Linked DNA regions of Homo sapiens: regions 2, 3, 4 and 5 are each linked to region 1. Evidence: promoter capture Hi-C in human tissues and cell types (Jung and others, 2019). All regions are on one chromosome and are shown on one strand. Each heading gives the region's core, a stretch centred on a gene start or on the middle of the fragment in contact. The rest is flanking DNA. Distances are from core to core; before and after follow the strand shown.

Region 1 (4,343 bases), core at 1,071-3,570:
TATTTTTGCTGGGTATAGAAATAGATTGGCAGGGGTTGGTCTCTTTGTCAAACTCTAATTGCATCTGATCTAATTTCCAGTTATCAAGGAAACTATACTTTTGATTCTTCCAGGGAAAAAGTAAACACAATGAATATTTCATTATATTTGAGTGAACATAAATTCTACATTTCCTAAACTTGGGAATAGTAATATATAACTATGGAACCTCATTCAGGAAAAAAAAAAAAAAAAAAAAAAAACCCCTCCTTATGCACCCTTCTAGTATACACAGATCAGAATAAATAAAGGGAATATCAATATTTGGAAGTTTAAAAAAGCAAGAAGTCACAAAATGCAGTCAGGAAAGTGGGTTGAATTGGCAAGATGTAGGGCTCAAAGCAAAACCTTGGATGTTTGTTGCAATTCTCCAAGTTTTTTTTTTTTTGAAACAGAGTCTCCCTCTGTCGCCCAGGCTGGAGTGCAGGGGCGCGATCTCGGCTCACTGAAAGCTCTGCCTCCTGGGTTGACGCCATTCTCCTGCCTCAGCCTCCCAAGTAGCTGGGACTACAGGCGCCCGCCACACGCCCGGCTAATTTTTTGTATTTTTAGTAGAGACAGGGTTTCACCGTGTTAGCTAGGATGGTCTCGATCTCCTGACCTCGTGATCCGCCCACCTCGGCCTCCCAAAGTGCTGGGATTACAGGCGTGAGCCACCGCGCCCAACCGCAATTCTCCAAGTTTTAATGATGGTTCTTTTTTGTCTCCTTACTCTCTTAAACACATTCATCCGTTTCAACAAGTTTTTTTTTAACAAGTTATTTTTTATTTTATTATTATTTTTTTAAAGCTCTGGTTAGTGCTAGATACTGTAAATCCTGATTAATCAGACATGGACTTAGCTTGCAAGGAGCTTCCAACAGAGACGTTAATAGGTATACAAATACCAGTAGCAGATTGAGACAGCCATAACAGATGCATAGACAAAGATTATTTCCTGTTAAGAGGAGTGAACAATTATTTATGGGGAATAAGGAGACTAAGAGAGAAAAGAATCAGAAAAAAGCGCCTCCAGGAGGCAGCATGTAAGCGGTACCTTTCAGAAAAGAAACGGTCGTGCCAAGATAATTACAAGTGACAGATGACAAGCTTTTCTGGGAAACATTGTCCAAGAAGGAATAGGCAAGAACTGCAGTCAAGCAGAATTACATATGCAAAAGAGCAGTGAGAAATAAGAGAAAATGGCAAATTGCAGACGGCCCTGAATGCTGGGCTAAGAAGTCTGGCTTGAGATAAACGTCCAGCTAAAGCAGGTCTGAGCGTTTTTTCCAGAGAGGTGAGGGAGAAGGGCACGTATCTATTAGGTTGATGCAAAAGTAATTGCGGGTTTGCCATTATTTTCAGTGGCAAAAACCACAATTACTTTTGCACCAATTTATTTATTTATTTTTAAGACAGAGTCTCGCTCTGTTGTCCAGGCTGAAGTGCAGTGGCATGATCTCAGCTCCACTGCAACCTCCGCCTCCCCGGCTCAAGTGATCCTCGTGCTTCAGCCTCCCGAGTAGCTGGGACTGCAGGCATGCGACATCACGCCCGGCTAATTATTTTATTATTTTATTATTTTTTATTTTTAGTAGAGACGGGGTTTCACCATGGTGGCCAGGCTGGTCTCGAACTCCTGAGCTCAGGCCATCTTCCCTCCTCGGCCTCCCAAAGTGCTGGGATTACAGGCGGGAGCCACCGCGCCCGGCCTACCGTCCTACGAGGTAGGCATCAGGATCCCTCCACAGCGAAGGCGCCCCCACTACCTATCTGTCTACAGGCGTGCCTTTTACGGGCTGTGCTATGGACAGCACTTGGGATGTCAGATTGACCACTAATAAGGTAGATCCGTATACACTGCTGCGGGGCTGAGTAACTGGTAGAGGGTCCCACAGTTAGAAAGCACCTGGACCTTGGCTGGAATTGGCGGAAAGTCCAGGCAGCGGAGAGGCGCGGTCCCTGGGACTGGGTGCGCTCTTGGCACCAGGGTCAGGGCCCACAGGCTCCAGGAAGCCCACGCGCTCCGCCGGGTCGCACCAGGTTGGCTGTCCGAACGCAGCCAGCTGGCGGGGCGGGGCCTTCCAGCTGGGGGCGGGGTCTTGACAGCTAGGGGGCGGGGCCTTGCAGCTGGTAGGGTGGGGCGGGCCGCGGGCTGTGGGCTTTGGGAGGGGTGCGGACTAGCAGAGGCCGAGAGCGGCGAGCCGCGAGCCAGGCAGTCCGGGGCATCCAGACTGCAGGCCGCGCCCAGGCCGCGCCCAGGCTGCGCCGCCCGCCTGCCTCCCGCGCTGCCGCGTCGCCAGTGCTAGCGCTCCTCTCCAGCATGCTGCGGCGGGGCAGCCAGGCGCTCCGGCGCTTCTCCACTGGCCGGGTGAGTCCGGCCCGGGCGAGCGTCCCGGCTGTCACCCTGTCCTGGTTTCCAGACTCCGGGGCGGGAGGGCCGGGGCGGTGGGGCTGGGGATGAGCAGCGATGCTTAGACTTTGCTAAACACCAAGACAGCGTTTAAAACAAACAAACAAACAAACAAAAACAGAGAGACCTCAGAGGAGGGCTTGGGGAGGGTCCCGGATGGGAACTGGCACGCAGGCCATTGTCTTCTGCCGGGAGGGGGCTGAGGATGCAGTTTTTGGACGTGTCAAGTCTGGCTGGGATGGCAAGGTGGGAACAGTCACTTGGTAAGGAGGACAGAGTCTGCTTCCTTTCCTTTTTCACTTCAATCATGAGATCCCTGGTCAAGAGCTGGAGCCATATGGAACCGAGACTGTCTCCTGGAGGAGGGGAGTATCAAGTCAATAGGGTCCTCGTTGGCGGCCTGGGAGGTGTAAGCGCTCGAGACTGGCACGCAGGGCCGGTTCAGATAATGGCACTCAAAGCTGATGGCTGCAAGCTCAGTATTCCTGAGCTGAGCTGCAGATGGCAAAATTTCTAGAATTGCCAGGCGCTGCAGAGGCAGCCACGCTGGAACACTATTCTACTGTAGCACAAGAACCGAGCTCTGGCCCAGCCCCGCGCCTTGGAATTGCATCAGCTCCTCCAGAAATGGAACCGAGAGAGGACACGTTGCACTGCGGTGCTGCCTTCAGCACCCAGGGGGCCTCGGGACTGTTTAGGGAAGAGAGAGAGAGAAAAAAAAAAAATAAAAACTGTCTTATGTATCGTATCTTTTATAGGAAGTACATAAAAGAATTTGCTTATCGATTCTTTTTCTCGGCCATGCCAAAGCCATATGTACATATGTATATATTCAGATGTAAAAAACTTGGAGGCAGAGAGAAGTCTTGAGTAGCACCAAAAACTGGCCCAAACTTGCATCAAAGGAAAAGCTTTCTGTATCCCAGACAACCCCAAATAATAAGAATTCGTTTTACTCTTTGCAACCAGTTCTAGTTACTTTGAGGTATAGTCACCTTTTATAAAACGAGGGGTGGGGGTGGGGAAGACCTGCTCTGCTAGGACTTTGGCCTGCTCTCCTGGACCCCTCATTAGCTTCCCCCACCACGTGGCACATGGGATCCCAGATGGATAGCACAGAAAGCAACGGGCTGTGCCCAATGCCTGAGCCTGTTTTGTTGGCCTCCTCTGTCAACACCTTTCACTGACTTGTCTTTTTTGGTGACCAGAAGGAAGTCTTGCAGAATGAAAAGATTTTGATAGTGCGGTTTGCATAAGATTTCAGTAATAAAAGGTAAACATCTCAGGTGGCAAATGGCATAAACAAAACTATGGATGTGGGGAAGAACTGGCGTGATCAGGGTCTAACTGTACGCAGGGGTGCATATGGAAAAGCAGTGATACTCATGGCTGGGAAGAAGACAGTTTCCTCAGTGGTCGAAAGGAAGCTACTGAGTGGTGAATGAAAAATGTGGGATGTTTTATCCTGTAGAAAATGTTCTGGACTGTGTTTTATAAGAATTATTCAAAATCAAACAGATACATGGCTGGTGGAAATATAAAATGGTACAGCCACTTTGGAAAACTGTTTGGCAGTTTTATATGTAGTTAAACATAAACCTATCATATGACCCCGGAATCACACTCCTAGGTATTTACTCAAAAGAAATGAAACCTTATTTGCCCGCATAGAAACCTGTTTATTGATGTTTCTAGAGGTTTTATTCATAATTGCCAAAAACTGGAAATAAATTGTCCTCAGCTGGTGACAGGATAAACAAGCTGTGGTATATCCATCCATACAATGGAATTCTACTCAGTTGGGGGAAAAAGGAATGAACTACTGATGCATACAACATGGATGGAACTCAAATATGTATGCTAAGTGTAAGAATCAGACTCATAATGCTACATATTTTATGATTTCATTTAT
Region 2 (4,343 bases), core at 1,121-3,620, 310 kb after region 1:
CAGTCTCTCTGAGTCGAGGAGTTAGACTGAAATTCTGAAATGCCTAGGTGGCTAGAATTAGGTGCAGAGCAGGGTACGCAAGTGAAGAGAGCTACACTAAGAAAGAGCATCAGAAATTTGGATAGAGGTCCTTTTGTGTCTTTGAATGAATGCCAGTAAGTGCATGCATAGAGTAAAATCCTACAAGGCCAGAAGAGAACAACTTACAAGGAAAGGACAATTGCTGAGGTGCTATATGAAAAATATTTCCCAGAGGTTACACAATGCCGGGAGTTATTTGAATTGCTTCTAGCAAGTGTAAAAGACCTCATTAAATATTCATGGAATTAAGTGGAACCCTCAGAAAGACCACACCTTACAAATGGGGTTAAATCAGCTCTAGAATAAAGGCTGCTCCAGACCCACTTTAACTGAGTTTAAAAACAAACCTGAAGAGGATCAGTCTAATCCATAAGTAATGTAATTGCCTGCCAGAAAATGTCCAACACCCCTTTAAAGAGTATAGTAAAACCCAGCCTGAAAAATGTAAAATTAAATATCCACCATCAAATTAAAAGTTGCTAGACATACAAAAAGGCAAGAAAATTGGAACAGTAATCAGGAGAAAAATTAGTCAATATAAGCAGACCTAAAAATGATAGTGATGATGGATTAGCAGATAATGACTTTAAAAGATTACACACACACACACACACACACACACTTCCACATTCTCAAGGATATAAAGGACATGTGATCATTATAAGGAAAGAAATGTAACACTTTTAAAGATCCAAATGGAACTTATAGAAATAAAAAATACAACATCTGAAATGAAAATTTCCCTGGGATGGCATTAACCGCAGGATTAAGAATCAGTAAACTTGAAGAAAGAGCAATTAGAAAATATTCAAAATGAAGCACACCAAGAAAACAAAAACTTTAAAAAATGAACAAAGCATTCATGATCAATGGAGCAACATCAAGTGGTCTAACATATAAGTAGAGTCCTAGAAAGAGTGTAGGGGCAGGAAAGAATATTTAGAGAAGTAATGGCCAAGTAATGGCCACACATTTTCAAATTTGATCAAGAATTTTTAGTTAAACAAAAGATGAGATAATTTGCTGCCAGCAGACCTATAATACAAGGAATAAGGAAATTTTTCAGGTTGAAAGAAAATGAGACCAGATGTGTGGAGTTATGCAAAAGAGCAAGGGCCAGAAATGATAAATGTGAAGGTAGATATTAAATTGTCTTTCTCACTTTTTGCATATTTAAAGGATAATTGACAGATAAAGCAAAAATGATAACATTTTATAGTTTGTAACACGTAGAACAAAATATATGACAACAAGGGCAAAAAGAAGGGGAATGGAAGTAATCTGTTGTGGGGTTCTCGTGTTAAATGTGTATATAGCATAAATTTTTAAAGATAGACTGTAATAAGTTTAAATACACATATTATAAATCCAAAGGCAACCACTAAACACAAACCAACAAAGAAATAGCTAATTAGCCAAAAGTAAATGGAAAACTAGAATAATAAAAATACCCAATATAAGCAAAGTAAAGGAAAAAAAGGGAAAAAGGAAGAAAGATAAGAAATAGAAAACAACAAGATAGTAGGTTTAAACCTAACTATATCAATAATTACATTAAATGTAAATAGTCTAAATATTCCAACTAAAAGGAAGAGGTTCTCATATTAGATTTTTTTTTTAAAAAATATCTGGCCAAGTGTGGTGGCTCATGCCTGTAATCTGAGCACTTTGGGAGGCCAAGGTGGGAGGATTGCTTGGAGCCAGGAGTTCAAGACCAGCCTGGATGACATTGCAAGATCCCGCCTCTACAAAAAGTAAAAAATTACTTGGGAAAAGGGTGTGCACCTGTAGTCTGGCTACTTGGGAGGCTGAGGCAGGATGATCTCTTGAGCCCAGGAGTTAGAGGCTGCAGTTAGCTATGATCACACCATGCATTCCAGCCTGGGAGACAGAGTGAGACCCTGTCTCTAAAAATTTTTTTAATTAAATTTAATTTGATTTTAAAAGACCCAAATATAGGTTGTTAACAAAGAAAGCTACTTTAAACATAAATACACAGATAGGTTAAAAGTAAAAGAGAGAAAATGGTATATAATGCAAACACTGAAAAAAGAAAGCTGGCTTAGTATAGTAGTATCAAAGTGGACTTCAGAACAAGGAATACAGCTGGGGAAAAAGAGGGACATTTCATAATAATAAAGGAGTTAATTCATCAAGAAAACATAACTTTAAATGTGTATGCAACTAATTTTTAAAGTTTTAAAATTAAGCAAAAATTGAGAAGAGAAATAGATTAATCCACAATTATAATAGGACATTTTAATACTCCCCTTTTCCAATAATTGATAAATAAATGTTCAGAAAATGAATAAGATATGGAAGACTTGAAGAACATTATCCACCAGCTTGATCCAGTTGACAGTTATAAAACCTTCCATCCAACAATAGCGGAATAAACATAGTTTTAAAGTCCACAGGGAACATATACCAAGATAGATCCTATTCTGGGCCTTAAAACAAGTCTCTATGAAGTTAAAAGGACAAAAATCATACAAAATATGTTATCTGACGACAATGGAATTTAAGTAGAAATAAAATGAAGATATCAAAAAAATTCCCAGCACACTTAATAATCTATGAATTAAATAAATAACTATAAAGAAAACTAGAAAATACTTTAAACTGAATAAAAATGGAAACACAATTTGCCAAAATTTATGGGATGCAGCTAAAGTAGTACTTAGAAGGACAATTTTAGCCTTAAGTGCTTATATTAGTAAAGAAGAAAGGACTCAAATTAATAATCTAAAGTTCTGGCATAAACTAGAAAAAGAAGAACAAATTATTCACAAGGCAAACAGAAGGAAGTAAATAATAAAAATGGGAGCACAAATCAATGAAACCAAAAACAAACAAAAAAAGGCAGAGAAAATCAACAAAACCAAAAGATTGTTCTTAGAAAGAATCAATAAAACTGATAAATTTCCAGCCAGACAATGGAAAAAAGAGAGAAGACATCAACTACCAATATCGGGAATGAAAAACAGAATATAATTACTTATCCAACAGGCATTAAATGTTAATAAGAGAAACTTATAAACAACATTATGCCAATAAATTCAGCAACTTAGATGAAACAGATATATTCCTTCAAATGTATTTTTACCAAAGCTCATTCAAGAAAAATTAGATTACTTAAGTAGCTTACTTAAAATTAATAATTTTATTTATCTATTAAATATTTATCTATTAAATAAAAATAATTTTTAATTAAAAACCTTCCCACAGTGAAAATTCCAGGAGCAGATAGCTTTGCAAGTGAGTTCTACCAGATATTTGAGGAAAAAAACGATACAATTTCTACACAAATTCCTCCAGAAAATAGAAGAGGAAGGAATATTTCCCAAGTTGTATTATGAGGCCGGCATTACCCTCCCATCAAAACCAGACAAAAGCATCACAAGAAAAATATAGGGTGATATTTTCTAGGAACATAGGCGAAAAAATTTAAATAAAATATTAGCAAATTGACCACTTTAATCTGATAAAGGGCATCCACAAAAAACCTACAGCTAGAATCATACTTCATAGTAAAAAACTGAAGCTTTCCTCTTAACCACTTTTATTAAACCTGGTATTGGAAGTCATAGCCAGTGCAATAAAGAAAAACATAAAAGCATACTTGGGGAATTATAATACCTGACTTCAAGGCCTCCTATAAAGCTATAATAATTAAGGCAGTGTGATATTGGCATAGGAACAGGCATATAGATCGACAGAACAGCAGAGAGAGTCCAGAAAGCAGCTCGCATATATGTGATCACTTGATTTTTGACAAAGGCACCAATGTAAAAATAGTACAGCTCTTTCAACAAATGGTAATGGAACAACTGGATATTTATAAGGTCTGAACTATGACCCTTACTTCATATATACAGTACTAACTAAATGGTCATAAACGTAAATGTAAAAGCAAAAATTATGACACTTCTAAAAGAAAACATTGGATAAAATCCTGGAGACTTTAGGTTGGGTAAAGATTTCTTACACAGGACACAAAAAACCCAGCTGTAAAATAAAAATTGATAAATTGGACTTCATCAAAATTTAAAATGTTTGCTCTTTGAAAGACATTAAGAAAATGAAAAGGGCAAACCACAGACTGAGAGAAAATATTTGTAAAACATATTTCTGATAAAGGATTTATGATTTGAATAAACATTTCTCCAAAGAATATATAGGAATGTGTATATAGAATAATCTAAAGTGATACATACATATAAATATGTAATTCATGTATAAACGATGGAAAGAATCAGAAA
Region 3 (4,343 bases), core at 1,193-3,692, 300 kb before region 1:
TCAAGTAAATGAAAGGGCTTCCCCCAACAAGCCGGAGATAAATGGTGGTTGTTCACTCCCGCGAGCCTGACCCTGTGTTAGCGCTGGGGATCAGGAGGACAGGCATGAAGTTCACTGAACAGCGAGAGGCAAAGACCCACCACACCACTCCCCCACTCTCCACTCACCCTGATTCTGTGTTAAAAGGTGAATGAGATGGTCTGGGCCAAAGCGTGCAGGCTTGGTCTCCAGTGCTGGCAACAGACAGGGAAAGAAGTCAGTGGGCTCAGTGCACATGTGAAGCAAATGAATGAAACTGAATTTGGAAAACAGAGTGACAAGTGTTATCTTGGGGCGGATATGCCACGAAGTATAGGAGTGCAGGAGAGGGAGGGAGCGGTCCTGCCTAGAGATGACATCAGAAACCAGCTTTTACAAATGCAGAACAGCTGGCCGGTCAGATGGAAGGAAGTGGAAAATAGTCCAGAAGAAATACTCTGGACAATGGTTTCGGAACATGGAAGGTCCTCATGCCTTTGGAAAATAATAAGAAAAAGGATTGACTGTGGAATGAGTCAGAAAGAAGGAGAGATTAGCTCTCCCTGTTCACGCCACCCACCCTGCCCCCAAGTAAGAATACAGTCAAGACGGGCAGTAGAATAATCATTTTCTTTGGGGGAAGGGGGCTTATATACTTCTGATTACAAAAGCCTCATTTTAAACATTTTGGAAAAATACATAAGGAATTTGCATTTCATCACAAACAGAAAGCCAGTATTTCCTGTCTCTCTTATAGATATACTATATTTGTGTGTATATATGTACATGTGTATACAAATATACATATATGTACGTGTGTATATATACATATATGTACATGTGTGTATATATGTACATGTGTATACATATATATGTACATGTGTATATATATGTACATGTGTATACATATATATGTACACATGTATACATATATACACACATTCATATATATCTGGGATAATTCTATACAAAATTTAATATCTTTGTTTTGTGAAATAGACAATGCACATTTTCCCATTAAATTACGCATAAAAGTATAATTTTGATGACTCTACAATATTCCTTTGTATAGCTGATTCATAATTTTTAAGCAGCCCTTTATTGTTGGACACTATATGGTTTCCAACTCCCCTTTACTATAAGCAACTTTGATGAACATTCCTTTTGTAAGTCTCTACATCTCATTATACACACACACACACACACACACACACACACACACACTTTTTTTGAGACAGGGTCGCCCAGGCTGGAGTGCAGTGACGCGAGCATGGCTCACTGCAGCCTCGACCTCCCAGGCTCAAGCAATCCTCCCACCTTAGCCTCCTGAGTAGCTGGAACTACAGATAAGAGCCACCACACCAGGCTACTTTTTGTATTTTTTGTAGAGACCAGGTTTTCCCATGTTGCCCAGGCTGGTCTCAAATTCCTGAGCTCAAGTGATCTGCCCGCCTCGGCCTCTCAAAGTGCTGGGATTACATGAATGAGCCAACGCACCTGGCCTTAAATGTTCTTGATTCAAATTGCCAAACTGCTCTCTAGAAAGGTTTTAGTAATTGAAACTTCCAAGCAAAGATGAGAGTGACCATTTGGCCACATTCATGCCAAGGCTGCGAATTATCATATTTAGTATCTTGTCACTCAAAAAAATACTTATTAGGCATTTACTAGGTGGTAGGCTCTGGGCTGGGTGCTGAGATACAGCAATGAGCAAGTGAGATAAGGAATTCCTGCTTCCTGGAGTTTCCATTCTTGTGCAGGAGGCTGTCAGTAAACAAGGGAAATCAGTAAAGTATGCAGCATGTTCATTGTAAATGCTAATGAGAAAAATAAATCTAGCAATAACAACTGGAAGTGTTGGGTGAAAGGGGCGTGAATTTTAGATGGGGTGGGCAGAGAAGGGCTTACTGGGGAGATATGAGTAAAGTGCTAAATAGGGAGATGGCGTGCAAATATCTGGAGGACAAGATTGCAGACATGAGGGATCGGCAAGTGAGAAGGTGTGAGATGAGAGCCTGGTTGGCAAGTTCGAGGTAAAGCAAAATCAGTGTGGCCGAAGAAAGGCAGAGAGGAGAAGAGTAATGTGTGTAAGTGATGTCAGAGGAGTAACCGAAATCAGAAGGGGAGGAGGAGATAGATGTGTTATGGAGGACCGTGTGGAATTCAACTTTCCCTGGAAGAGAAGGGGAGCACTGGAGGGTTTGACTTGGAATTTAACAAGATCCCTCTCGCTGCTGTGTTCAGAACAGGCTGAGGTGGGCTAAGGAACGAAGGAGGCTAGTGCCGTAATCTAGGATGGAGATGATGGTGGCAATGGAATAGACGTGATGGGGATGGTGAGAAGAGATTGAAATCTAGAGACGTGAAGGTGGCACGTGCACCTACAGGATTTGCTGATTCGGGGATGGGGGAGAGCTAAGAAAGAGTCAGGGTGAGTCCCAGCTTTTTGACCTGAGCAGCTTGGAGAATGAAGTTGCCATTTACTAAGTTGGAGAAGTTGGCAAAGGAACAAAACAGAACAGGGGTAGAGGGTGGAGATCAAGACCTCAGATATGAGCTTATTAATATGAGATACGGTTTAAGACATCCTAGTAGAGACACCAAGTAGACAGTTGGATAGAGGACTGAAGCTTAGGGAGAGGTCAAGGCTGAGGGCACACAGGAATTAACAGCACATAGAATGGACAGAAAAGAGGATCTGTCCAAAGATGAAGGCTGTGGGCACGCCTGTGTTCAGAGGTTTGGATGCCAGAAGGAATCAGCAAAGGATACTGAGGACGAGCAGACAGAGAGGCAAGAAAACAATCAAGAGAATGCGGTGACCCAGAAGCCAAGTGGAGAAGTCTCAGGGAGGCTGGAGGGATCAGGATTAAGATGAAGACTAAGAATTGACCATTAGATTAGCAATAAGGAGGCCACTGGTGCCCATGAGAACCAGTCTTAGTGGAATGAGAGGAGCAAAGACCTGACTGGAGTAGGTTCAAGAGAGAAAGTGGAGACAGTGATTATAGACTAATCTTATTAGGAGCTCTGATGGCAAAGGAAGGAGAGAAAGGGGCATTTGATCGAGAGACGGTTCTTTTTTTAGGACGGGAGAAATAAAATAATGTTTGTATGATGATGGAAATAATCCTGTAGGCGGGAAGAACTGGTTGGAGAATTGTTGGGGCAAAGTGCTTGGTTGGGTGCAAGAGGATGGGATGCAATGCGGGAAAGGGGGAGCAATGGTACCCATCGTGGGGGAAGCTCGATTGTTTCTTTTTTTTTTTTTTTTTTTTTTTTTTTTTTTTTTTGAGACGGAGTCTCGCTGTCGCCCAGGCTGGAGTGCAGTGGCGCAATCTCGGCTCACTGCAGGCTCCGCCCCCTGGGGTTCACGCCATTCTCCTGCCTCAGCCTCCGGAGTAGCTGGGACTACAGGGGCCCGCCACCTCGCCCGGCTAATTTTTTGTATTTTTAGTAGAGACAGGGTTTCACCGTGTTAGCCAGGATGGTCTCGATCTCCTGACCTCGTGATCCGCCCGCCTCGGCCTCCCAAAGTGCTGGGATTACAGGCGTGAGCCACCGCGCCCGGCCGATTGTTTCTACATTGTTTCTACATTGTTAGTGAGATAGGAAGCAAGGGTGACAGCTGAGAGTGAGGATGAGAGGATGTGTTGGAGGTTTGAGGAAAAGCTAGAAGATAGGAAATAGTCATCTAAGGAAAGAAAGAATGAATGGGCTCAGGAAATAGAGGGTGGTGCCCCGGCAGCATTATGGACCCACTGGAAGTCCCTGTCTGTGTGGTTGTCTATGCAGCCATATCACCAGGGCACATGCATGCAGTGACATGGCTTCAACCAGGGTTGTAGTCAGGCAAGTGATTACAAAAGAGAGGGAGGCAAAGGAGGGATGACACTGAGCGACCTTGGTGTTTAAGCTGAGGAAGGAGGGACAGGAAAGGCTAGCAGTGAAAACAGCAATGAGTGGCCCCCAAGGCCAAAAGATGGCTGGAGTCAGAGATGGAAAGAGAGGAGATAGCGGCCGGAGTGTGGGATCTTAGAAACTGCCCTTGAGAGAAGCTGTAGTTATGGATAATAACGCTGGGTGTCAGGATGGGAGCAGATGTCAGGGGCTTGGTGGAGAACAAGTTCACTGGAGAAGGGAAAGGTCAAAGAGCTGGGAGGCCAGGGCACCGCATGGTTCCTGCATGTGGGTGTGGAAATCATCAAGGAATCATGTCGGTCACAGTGACCAAGAACAGAAGTCCTCATGGACCAGCAGCCCCCGCGGTCCAGCTGACAGCCACAGGAGGGCAGTGGGCAGTTTCAATTGATGGGTGAAAACTG
Region 4 (4,343 bases), core at 980-3,479, 290 kb after region 1:
GGCATTAGGCAGTTTGGTGAACTCTTTGTGTGGCTCATACATCAGGCACAAGACTTGTTCCTTAAAATTTATCATTTCAGCTTATAGAGATTTAGGAACAGAGCAGTTCCTGTTTTTAGTAATTCCATGGAAGAAAGTTGGATTAAAGGAATATAAAAGAATTCAGGATCTAGTCTACTCTATAGGTAAATAAGAACCTGAAAACAATGCACAGAGCTATAATCTAATAGCAGATGTATTATAGCTTTTTCTTTATAAATATAACTATTTCTGCCTATGTTGATCACACAGGAATCTCAGATTTAAAAACCTCTTGAGGCTAGGAAACCAAACTAAGGAAGACTTTAGATGTTACCTACAGTCCTAAGGCTCCTGAGCCTGCCAGGAAGTGAGTTTTTATTCACCGTAAGGCTGAGAACCCTTGAAGTCAGGTATTCTATGCATATTCTCCAATCTATTTCACTCAAAGCCTTGGTAATATAACCAGTATTTTCATTGTATCCAGTTATAGAAAGCAGATTTTTACTGAATTTATGCAAATAACCATGAATAGTTCCCACATTTTGGAGGCATCAAGTAGGTAGAAAAGCAATTGCTTCCATCTTTGTTCACACGAGTACACTTTACCAAATTTCTGTAAACTATGGATAACTAAGAAAAAAAAAGTTCCTTCAATCTGGAAAATAAAACATTTAAGAACCAATAATGTTTCAAATAAACATAAAAACATCTTCATCAGTTACTTAATCTCATGTAATTAATTTTTGTTTTGCTTGATCTTATCTGTTTTATGAACCCATCAGTTTCTTCATTAAATTTTTGAAAATTTTTTATGTAGTCCATTGATCTTACAGTTATTAGAAACCTGTATTTAAGAGTAGTTGTTAGAGTATTTTTCATGAAACTAATTGCAAATGCTTTTGGAGAAAAATCAAAACAATAATTGTGAATGACAGAGACTTAAAATAGCCATGGTTAAGAATCTGACTTTGATTCATTACAATCAGCAATTGACAAGGAAATTTGGTTATTTTATGGCATACAATATAATAACCAGAATTATGGCCAATAAGATATTAGATTTCTAAGAGTTTTGTACAGTTGGGGACATTCATATCAATAACATACCCATAAATGTAACTGAAAGAAAACCTAGCATCACTTATCATTTGACAATACTTCCCGTACAAACAAGCCTAGTCACTTAATATCTCTACAAGATGAAAGATACATCCTTTGAGGCTCTCCAGTGGCCCACATGGAAAATCCTGAAGTTAATTCTAGGTCAAAAAGATTTAATTTAGAATGTTGATCCTGGAGAAGCCTGCCAAAGATGCCAAAAAGTTCAAAATACTTGATCAAAACAGGATCGCAGGTCACTGTGAAATAATAGCCATTCATTTAACCAGAGTGATAATCCAAAGACTTCAAAAGCAATAAAGTTTCATAAATGTAAAAAAAAAAAGCAACTTTTTCAAAGCTCAATTTTTCTACATAATAATAAAAATAAAGATAACAACAGGAAATTATCTTGGTAAATATAAAATATTTGCTTTTTAGGCCAGTTACCAAAAATAAAAACCTCCTCCAGTGTAACTGCTTCTCCTTATGGGAAGCCTATTTAGATAATCTGGAAGTCAAACCTCATGAAAGGGTACTTGAACTTAATCAGACACAGGAAGAGTGTGCCCAAGGTTATGAATGTATACCATATTATAGAGAAATATAAACAAGAAAACTAGTACCTTGAGCAGGGGAATATATGTCTCTTACTAACATCATCAGAAGTTTCCTGGTTACATGGAACAATTCAGACACATTAAGAAAAGCCAACAGAATTAAGTTATACTAGAAGAAAACACTGATTTTCCAGGCCTTCAGGATAAGCATTTTACTGTCAGGTTATAACGACAGAGTTGGAGCTGGAGAAAAAAGTTAAGGAATGACAAAAAAGTTGAAGGAGAGAGAGATCATCTCAGTCCTTCTCAAGTAGAGAAAGAAGAACAGGAGGCAAGATGTTATGACCTGCAAATCACATGTCGCAAGATAGAGCCAAAGTCGAACTTCTGAGAAATAGATCTGAGAAGCTTCAACAGGAAAACTCTACCTTGTTAAATGAAATTACCAACCTGAATGAAGACAGCATTTTCAGCCTGAAACTAGGGACATTAAATGAATGTCAGGAAGAAATGTGGCAGAAATAGAAACTGTACAGTTTAGAAAATGCCTGCTAAAGAAACAGATTTTAGAATTAAAAATAAAAATGTCTTGTAATTTTTGCTAAGAGCAGATCAAAAATTTGAGAAAACCTGGCTATTCTAGCATAGGGGACCAAAAATTTAATTTTGTATTAGTGTATTTTTAATATCAAAGTTCAATCTTTAGAAAAACTTACAAATAATTCCCTTCTAATTGTAACCAACATGATCACACAAAAATTGCTTTTATAAATTCATTCTTCACAAACCTTATCATGATTTACTCAGACACTCGATATGCTTAGCTTTTTTGCTTTGTCCTCTACTTCGTCTTTCTTAAATAACCAGTCATTTGATGTTAGGACAAAAATATGCCACTCAAGATTCTTTCTTATACAAAATTATTCTCTTCCTCTTAAACTTCCTTACCAAAAACATATCTTCACTGTCAAAGTCACCAATAGCCTCCACATTGCCAAATCCAATGATCAATTTCTAATAAGAATTCTTACCTTATTTAATCTCTAAAGTCATTTAACAGAATCTCCTTCCATCTTGAAATATTTTCTTTACTTTGCTTCCAAAAGTCTGCCCTTCGCTTTCTTTCCTTACCCTACTAAAAGCCCCTTCTCAGTTTGTTTTGCTGGTCGCTTCTCTTGTTCTCAATCTCTAAATGTTGGAATGCTCTAGGGCTCAGTTTTATCATCTCTTCTCTATCTACTTTCTTTCCCGATGTGATCTTACCCATCTTATTGTTATAAATATCATCTGTACTGATTATTCCAAAACTGTCTAGTCCCAACCTCTCAACTGAGTTTTAAATCTGTATTTCCAAATACCTGCCAGACAACTCTACTTGAATGACGACTAGGTATCTCAAGCATTTGAACACTCTCATCCACCTTGACCTAATTGACATCTGTAGAACACTTTATCCAACAAATGCAGAATACATATTGAAGGTTAATCTCCTTGGCAAACAAAGAACTTTTATAAATCAAGGGAAAAAATACCAGCAACCCAATAGTAAAATAACCAGAGGAGAGATGGTTCACAGAAAAAAAAATTTAATACCACTCAAAAAAATGCTAATTAAAATCACACTGAGATACTACTTACCTATCAGATTGGCAAAAATTCAAAACTGGATAAAACATTCTCTTGGCAAGGCTGTAGGGAGACAAAATTGCTGGTGGTAGAGCAGAATAAAAGCTCTATAGTGGGGAATCTAGCCATATATAACAAAATTACAAATGCACTTGTCATCCTATCTTGTAATTTCACCATTACTAGGCAAGTAAAGGCTGGGCCCTTTGCTGCATGATTTATAGCAAAGTTTGGCAAATTTCAGCCAGTGGGCCAAATCCAGTTTGCTGCCTGGATAAATAAAGCTTATTAGAATTCAGCCATGTCCATTCATTTCCATATGGCCTATGGCTGCTCTCCCTCTATACAGTAGAATTGAGTAGCCTTAAAAAAGACCATAGAGCCTGAAAGCCTAAAATCTTTACTATCTGGCCCTGCACATACACATACACACACATACACACACACACACACACACACACACACACACACACACACACACACACACACACGTTCACCTACCCCTTCTTTAGAGTGAATTCCTAATTTCTAAATCTTCTTTCTAAGTCTCCCCACTGATAGCGAGACTAGCTGGAGTCAGCAGTGCCATCTGGGCAGGGTGCCCCAACTTGGAACTGATCCTGTATGGTCTCCAGTTGGCAGAAGCTCCTACCTTACAGTTTTGTAAGTTGCCATCCAAAGCCTGAGACTGGCCAGTGGGCTGGCAGTTGGCCCAGTTTCTGTTTTTCCCCTTGTTTGAGGTCCACCAGAGACCAGAGACTCATGCCTATGGGGTAGTTCCAGGATTCTATGGCCAGCCCTAGTTCCAGAAAGGCATTTTGATGAGTTGATTGCTCTTACTGACCAAAATGACATGTTGATTTTGTGTGACTTTCATGTCAGACACAGGGGAAGTTGAGAGCTCTGGGCCACTAACTGTCCATAGTTAACCCTTGGACTCAAGCCGTAGCTGTCTTATATCAGCATTCTGGCTGCAGCGTTGCCTCCCGTCTAGAGCATTAAAGTATGACACGGTGGTAGCAGTCACCCTTTACCCTG
Region 5 (4,343 bases), core at 816-3,315, 270 kb before region 1:
TTCCAATTTCAAAACTTCTTTGGACTGTTTTCTTTTGATCTCTCTCCCTGGATGAGCCCATTGGCCAATATTAGTCCCTTTCTTTCTTCCAGAGTGTATGACTGGAGAACATGAGTAACATTCACTTCAAAGGAATGCTTTCAACTTCTCTTTATCCAGAAGCAAGAGATCAAGAGCCAGACTGCAAATTCCCTGTCCTCTCTAGCTCTCCTCCCCCCAGTTATTCTCTTACTAAGGGGCACACAGTGTTAGGAATTATTTCAGAATTGGTTGTAAAAATATCATTTGCTATAAGGCAAGGGTGCACTCTTCATCTCCTTACCTTAAGAAATTTGGCTTTTCCTTGCTGGCACCACTTTTCTCAAAACCTCAAGAATATGCATCTTGTTCTCACCTACCCTAGCTTCTCCTAACAGGAGACAGAGCCAGCATGCTCCTCATCTCCCCACAGAGCTCTTACAGGTGGGGCCATTTCATTTTCACTCAGAACCTCTCCTCTCTGGAGTCTAAACCCTGCCATAACTGTCCCCAGAGCACCAAAGATTTTGACCCTGACCCAAAGTTTTTCTTTCTAAGCACCATTATCTTGGTCAATTTAAAACTCCATGAAAATGGCCACGTGCAGTGGCACACACCTGTAATCCTAGCACTTTGGGAGGCCAAGGCGGGCGGATCACAAGGTCAGGAGTTCGAGACCAGCCTGGCCAATATGGCAAAATCCCAACTCTACTAAAAACACAAAAATCAGCTGGGCGTGGTGACATGCGCTTGTAATCCCAGCTACTTGGGAGGCTGAGGCAGGAGAATCACTTGAACCCAGGAGGCAGAGGTTGCAGTGAGCTGAGATAGTGCCACTGCACTCCAGCCTGGGCAAGAGAGCAAAACTCTGAAAAAAAAAAAGAAAAAGAAAAAGAAAAAGAAATTCGTGAAAACCACCCATCCAACCTCTCACCTCATATTTTGCTGACTTCCTCTATCCCAACAACTTCTGTGCTGCTCCGCTAACATACTCCGATGGCTGCTCCATGGAGTATAGTTCCTGGAACTATTTTACCACATTTTAGAGTAGAAAATCCCACTCCCTAGGGAGGAAAAAAAAATCCTCCTTTCGATAGTCCCATCATTCCCAAGAAGGCTGCTTTCTTATTGCAACATCAGCTCCAGTTCATCCATCCCTCCCCGTCCTCCCTATCCATCAGCCCCTCGTGTTTCCCTTCCCTCTCTCCCTAGCACATGTCTTGCAGTCAAGTATTTCTGCAGCACTTGCTGGTCACCACCTATTCCTCTCCATCCCTGGATGAATCCGTCCATCTGCTCTCTCTCTTCCTGCTCCTATTTCACAGGGTCCGACCTAAGGAAAATCTCATCATGGCTACCAATGGGAATATATGATTTCTAACCACAGCAAGGCCCTCAATATGCTGGGTCTTCTGCCATCAAGTATTCATGTCAGAGGCCCTGCCAAATTTTTTCAACAACATTTTAAACTAACTAATAATTCTAGCTGTCATTCACCGGGGGCAACAAGCATAATGCCAAGTATTTTCCTAGGATATTAAATATACTGTATTTGTAATCTGTCCCTCCAGCAGCTACTTCAGCTCTCTGTGCTCCCCACCTCCTCACTTGTAAAATGAAACATCATTATTCTGTCCATCAGATTATCATGGGTATGGAAGGAGATAACGTACAGAAAATGCTGGAAATCAGTGTATGGTGCACAGTCCTCAGTAAAGATTAGCTACTACTGTAAGAATGATGATGATGAAGATGATCACCCTGCACAGTTATTATATTATCCCAATTTCACAGATAATTATACTAAGGACACAATGTAACACAGCTAGCAAATGGTGAAGGGGATTTTAAACACAAGTCCCTCTGCTTCCAAAATGCAGGCTTTTTCAATGCTACTTCAACCCCATCCTCTTCACCCTCAGAAGACAGCGTTACCTTCTACTACATGGATGAGAAAAGAGCCCATCAGATACCCTAAGGTCTGTATCTATGAGGAGCAGAGAGGGCTCAGCTGACATGGGTGCATTAGACATGGTAAATTTATAAAGGATCCCAAGAAACTCAACATAAAAGATTTATCATTTCTTTTTTCCAAACACAAAAACAAAAACAAATTGCCAATGGGTTTTATGTCATTTCATTCCAAAATATTTTTCCCTGTATTTGCTACCTTCCATAATAATAAAATAGCTTTACCAAGGAAAGAATCTCAGTAAGATTCACTTTACATGTTTTAAGTGAAAGAAGTATTTGAATTACATTGTTTACATTGAGTAGCTATGGTTTTTTATTTTCAACAGCAAACATTATATTTGAGTCAACTTATTTAATACTGTTTCTTATTTGAAACGTAGTCATAATATTCTTATAAATATTGCTTAAGCTTTAAATCAAGACTTCTTTAAGAACACGAAAATTGATCTACAAAAAAAAATGCTTTCAATTAAATTCCAATTGTTTCGGTTTGCCCACTTACAATTTCTCCCCTTTTTTTTGGTAACGGCATCCCAATTTTTCCGTGGGGAATCACCCCTCTTCTGCTCTTTGGCCATATGGTAAGGTGGGGCTGATGATACTGATTGGCTCCAGTGGTGAGCACATGACTGCAGCCTGGCCAATGAGCACCCCACATTCTCCTGGCCCACTGACTGATTCCGAGATAGGAACATGACCCCAACGGGCCAAGAGAGCCCAGCCCTAGGACTTTTGATCAAACTACAAGGAAAAAGAAGCTGCTTTTTTCCACAGGAATTAGGAAGCTGATAAGATATAAACTGGTCCTGTTTGTCACCACTTGAGGAAAGCTGCCTAAGAATGAAGACGAAAGCAGAGAAGAGAATTTCTTCCTGTTGTTTGATCACCTGGATCCAGCTGTGACTACAGCCAAGTCCCTGGAGCTTTTCCACTCCACATGCCAATAAATTCCTTTGTGTTTGTTTGTTTAGGCCAGTTTAAACTGGGCTTCTGCCATTTCCTACCAAAAATATCCCAACGCAGCCTATTTGTGCCAAATAGCTGAGAATCTGCCACACTAAAATAAGAACATGGTTGATGTTGGCAGGTTTGTGAAAGCGGCCGAATGTCATTACCTTGAATTCACTGTTTTGTTTGTTTTGTTCAGTGTGTTACTGCACTGTGATTTAATTTCAAAGAGACAGAAAGAGAGGGAAAAATAGGCTTGTTTTCTGATACACATGTAGGCTTTTTCTTATGGTGATTAAGTTTCTAGACATTGTCAACCATGCTTTCAAGTGTTGAAGGTTAACCTAGCTAGGTTTTGAGTTCTCTAGCCTGTCATAGGATTTACATGCATCGTTATTCTCTCCACCACCAGAGAGAAACCCCCTCCCCAAACCACCATCAGCTTTTCTTACTCGCCTGGTTCCTGTCTTTTAGCCTACAGCAATATCCATGCCTCCTCCATGCCAAAAAATAATTTTTAAAAAAAGACAAAAGGAAAAACAAACTTCAATACACAAAATCAACCATACTCACAACTGGGCAGAAACAACCAAAAAACACTTGAAGAAAAGTGTAAAATGTTCATAATGATTGTCTCTGGTGGTAGAATAATAACTGAATTTTTCTCTTAAAAAATACTTTCCTGTACTTTCCAAATTTCCTTGGTATTCTTTTTCTAATACAGTATATTCTGAAAATTTGCCTCCTCTTAAAGCCACCAACATCCCTCCATTCCTTACCGCCAAACAGCATAAAAACCAAAGACCCACATCACTCTCTCCACTTCCTTGCACCTGGCTCACTTCCACTTTGACTTGGTTATCATTCACCCTGCTCAACTGAAACTACAGTCCCCAGGGTGACCAATGTGGCCATCATGACACACGCAATGACTTCTCTTCCTCCTTCAGCCCCCCATGACCTCTTTGGACTATCAGCCATCGCTTCCCTTGGCTCAAGTTTGACTGCAGCATTATCCTCAGAGTTTCCTTTCCTTTCCTTCCCCGTTCAGTCATTAAACAAATCTTATTAATTACATTTTCTAATGCATCTTGTTTGTATCACCTCTTCTCCTTTCCCTCTGCTATCTGACCCTCTTGTAGCCTCACTTCCATTATTCCTCTGTGCCTGCACCCTCCCTCATCCCATGTGTCACACTGCTTTGGGAGTTACTGCCCTAAAACTCAAACATAATCATTTAATTCCTCCACCTTAAAATCTCTATCAGCCCTTGAATGCATAAAAAAAAACAAGCACGATTATTGGCCTTGCACCCAAGGCCCTTCACAAGCCAGCCCTGCCCATCAACCTCATCTTTCACTTCTGCCCAGACTGTACCACAGGCACAGGCTCCAGGGGACACC

The links. The method cuts DNA at HindIII sites, captures the fragments that hold promoters and counts their contacts. A contact is called where the count stands out against the background at its distance.
Region 2: a fragment that was not itself captured here is called in contact with the fragment with the promoter of ALDH1L2 in region 1 in 5 of the 25 tissues and cell types used here (H1 embryonic stem cells, heart left ventricle, lymphoblastoid cells and 2 more).
Region 3: a contact is called between a fragment that was not itself captured here and the fragment with the promoter of ALDH1L2 in region 1, in 2 of the 25 tissues and cell types used here (adrenal gland and lymphoblastoid cells).
Region 4: a contact is called between a fragment that was not itself captured here and the fragment with the promoter of ALDH1L2 in region 1, in 7 of the 25 tissues and cell types used here (adrenal gland, aorta, liver and 4 more).
Region 5: a fragment that was not itself captured here is called in contact with the fragment with the promoter of ALDH1L2 in region 1 in 1 of the 25 tissues and cell types used here (lymphoblastoid cells).

The regions. Positions count from the first base shown.
Region 1 is chr12:105,082,435-105,086,777 of GRCh38, reverse strand. It overlaps ALDH1L2 (aldehyde dehydrogenase 1 family member L2), which reads left to right and starts at 2,320. Exons shown (of 23, transcript NM_001034173.4): 1 at 2,320-2,389. The coding sequence starts at 2,342. RefSeq lists a silencer at 2,013-2,442 and enhancers at 2,943-3,182, 2,677-3,477. The HindIII fragment of the contact is 4,053 bases long and covers 97-4,149 here.
Region 2 is chr12:104,769,832-104,774,174 of GRCh38, reverse strand. No RefSeq gene overlaps it. Among named protein-coding and RNA genes, the nearest start is that of MIR3922, 180 kb to the right of the region's middle. The HindIII fragment of the contact is 6,951 bases long and covers 1-4,343 here.
Region 3 is chr12:105,378,995-105,383,337 of GRCh38, reverse strand. All of the region lies in intron 1 of LOC105369957 (a long non-coding RNA gene), which reads right to left. Among named protein-coding and RNA genes, the nearest start is that of C12orf75, 50 kb to the right of the region's middle. The HindIII fragment of the contact is 7,784 bases long and covers 1-4,343 here.
Region 4 is chr12:104,795,719-104,800,061 of GRCh38, reverse strand. No RefSeq gene overlaps it. Among named protein-coding and RNA genes, the nearest start is that of SLC41A2, 160 kb to the left of the region's middle. The HindIII fragment of the contact is 7,020 bases long and covers 1-4,343 here.
Region 5 is chr12:105,351,738-105,356,080 of GRCh38, reverse strand. The region is part of intron 2 of C12orf75 (chromosome 12 open reading frame 75); the gene reads right to left. Among named protein-coding and RNA genes, the nearest start is that of C12orf75, 23 kb to the right of the region's middle. The HindIII fragment of the contact is 4,396 bases long and covers 1-4,263 here.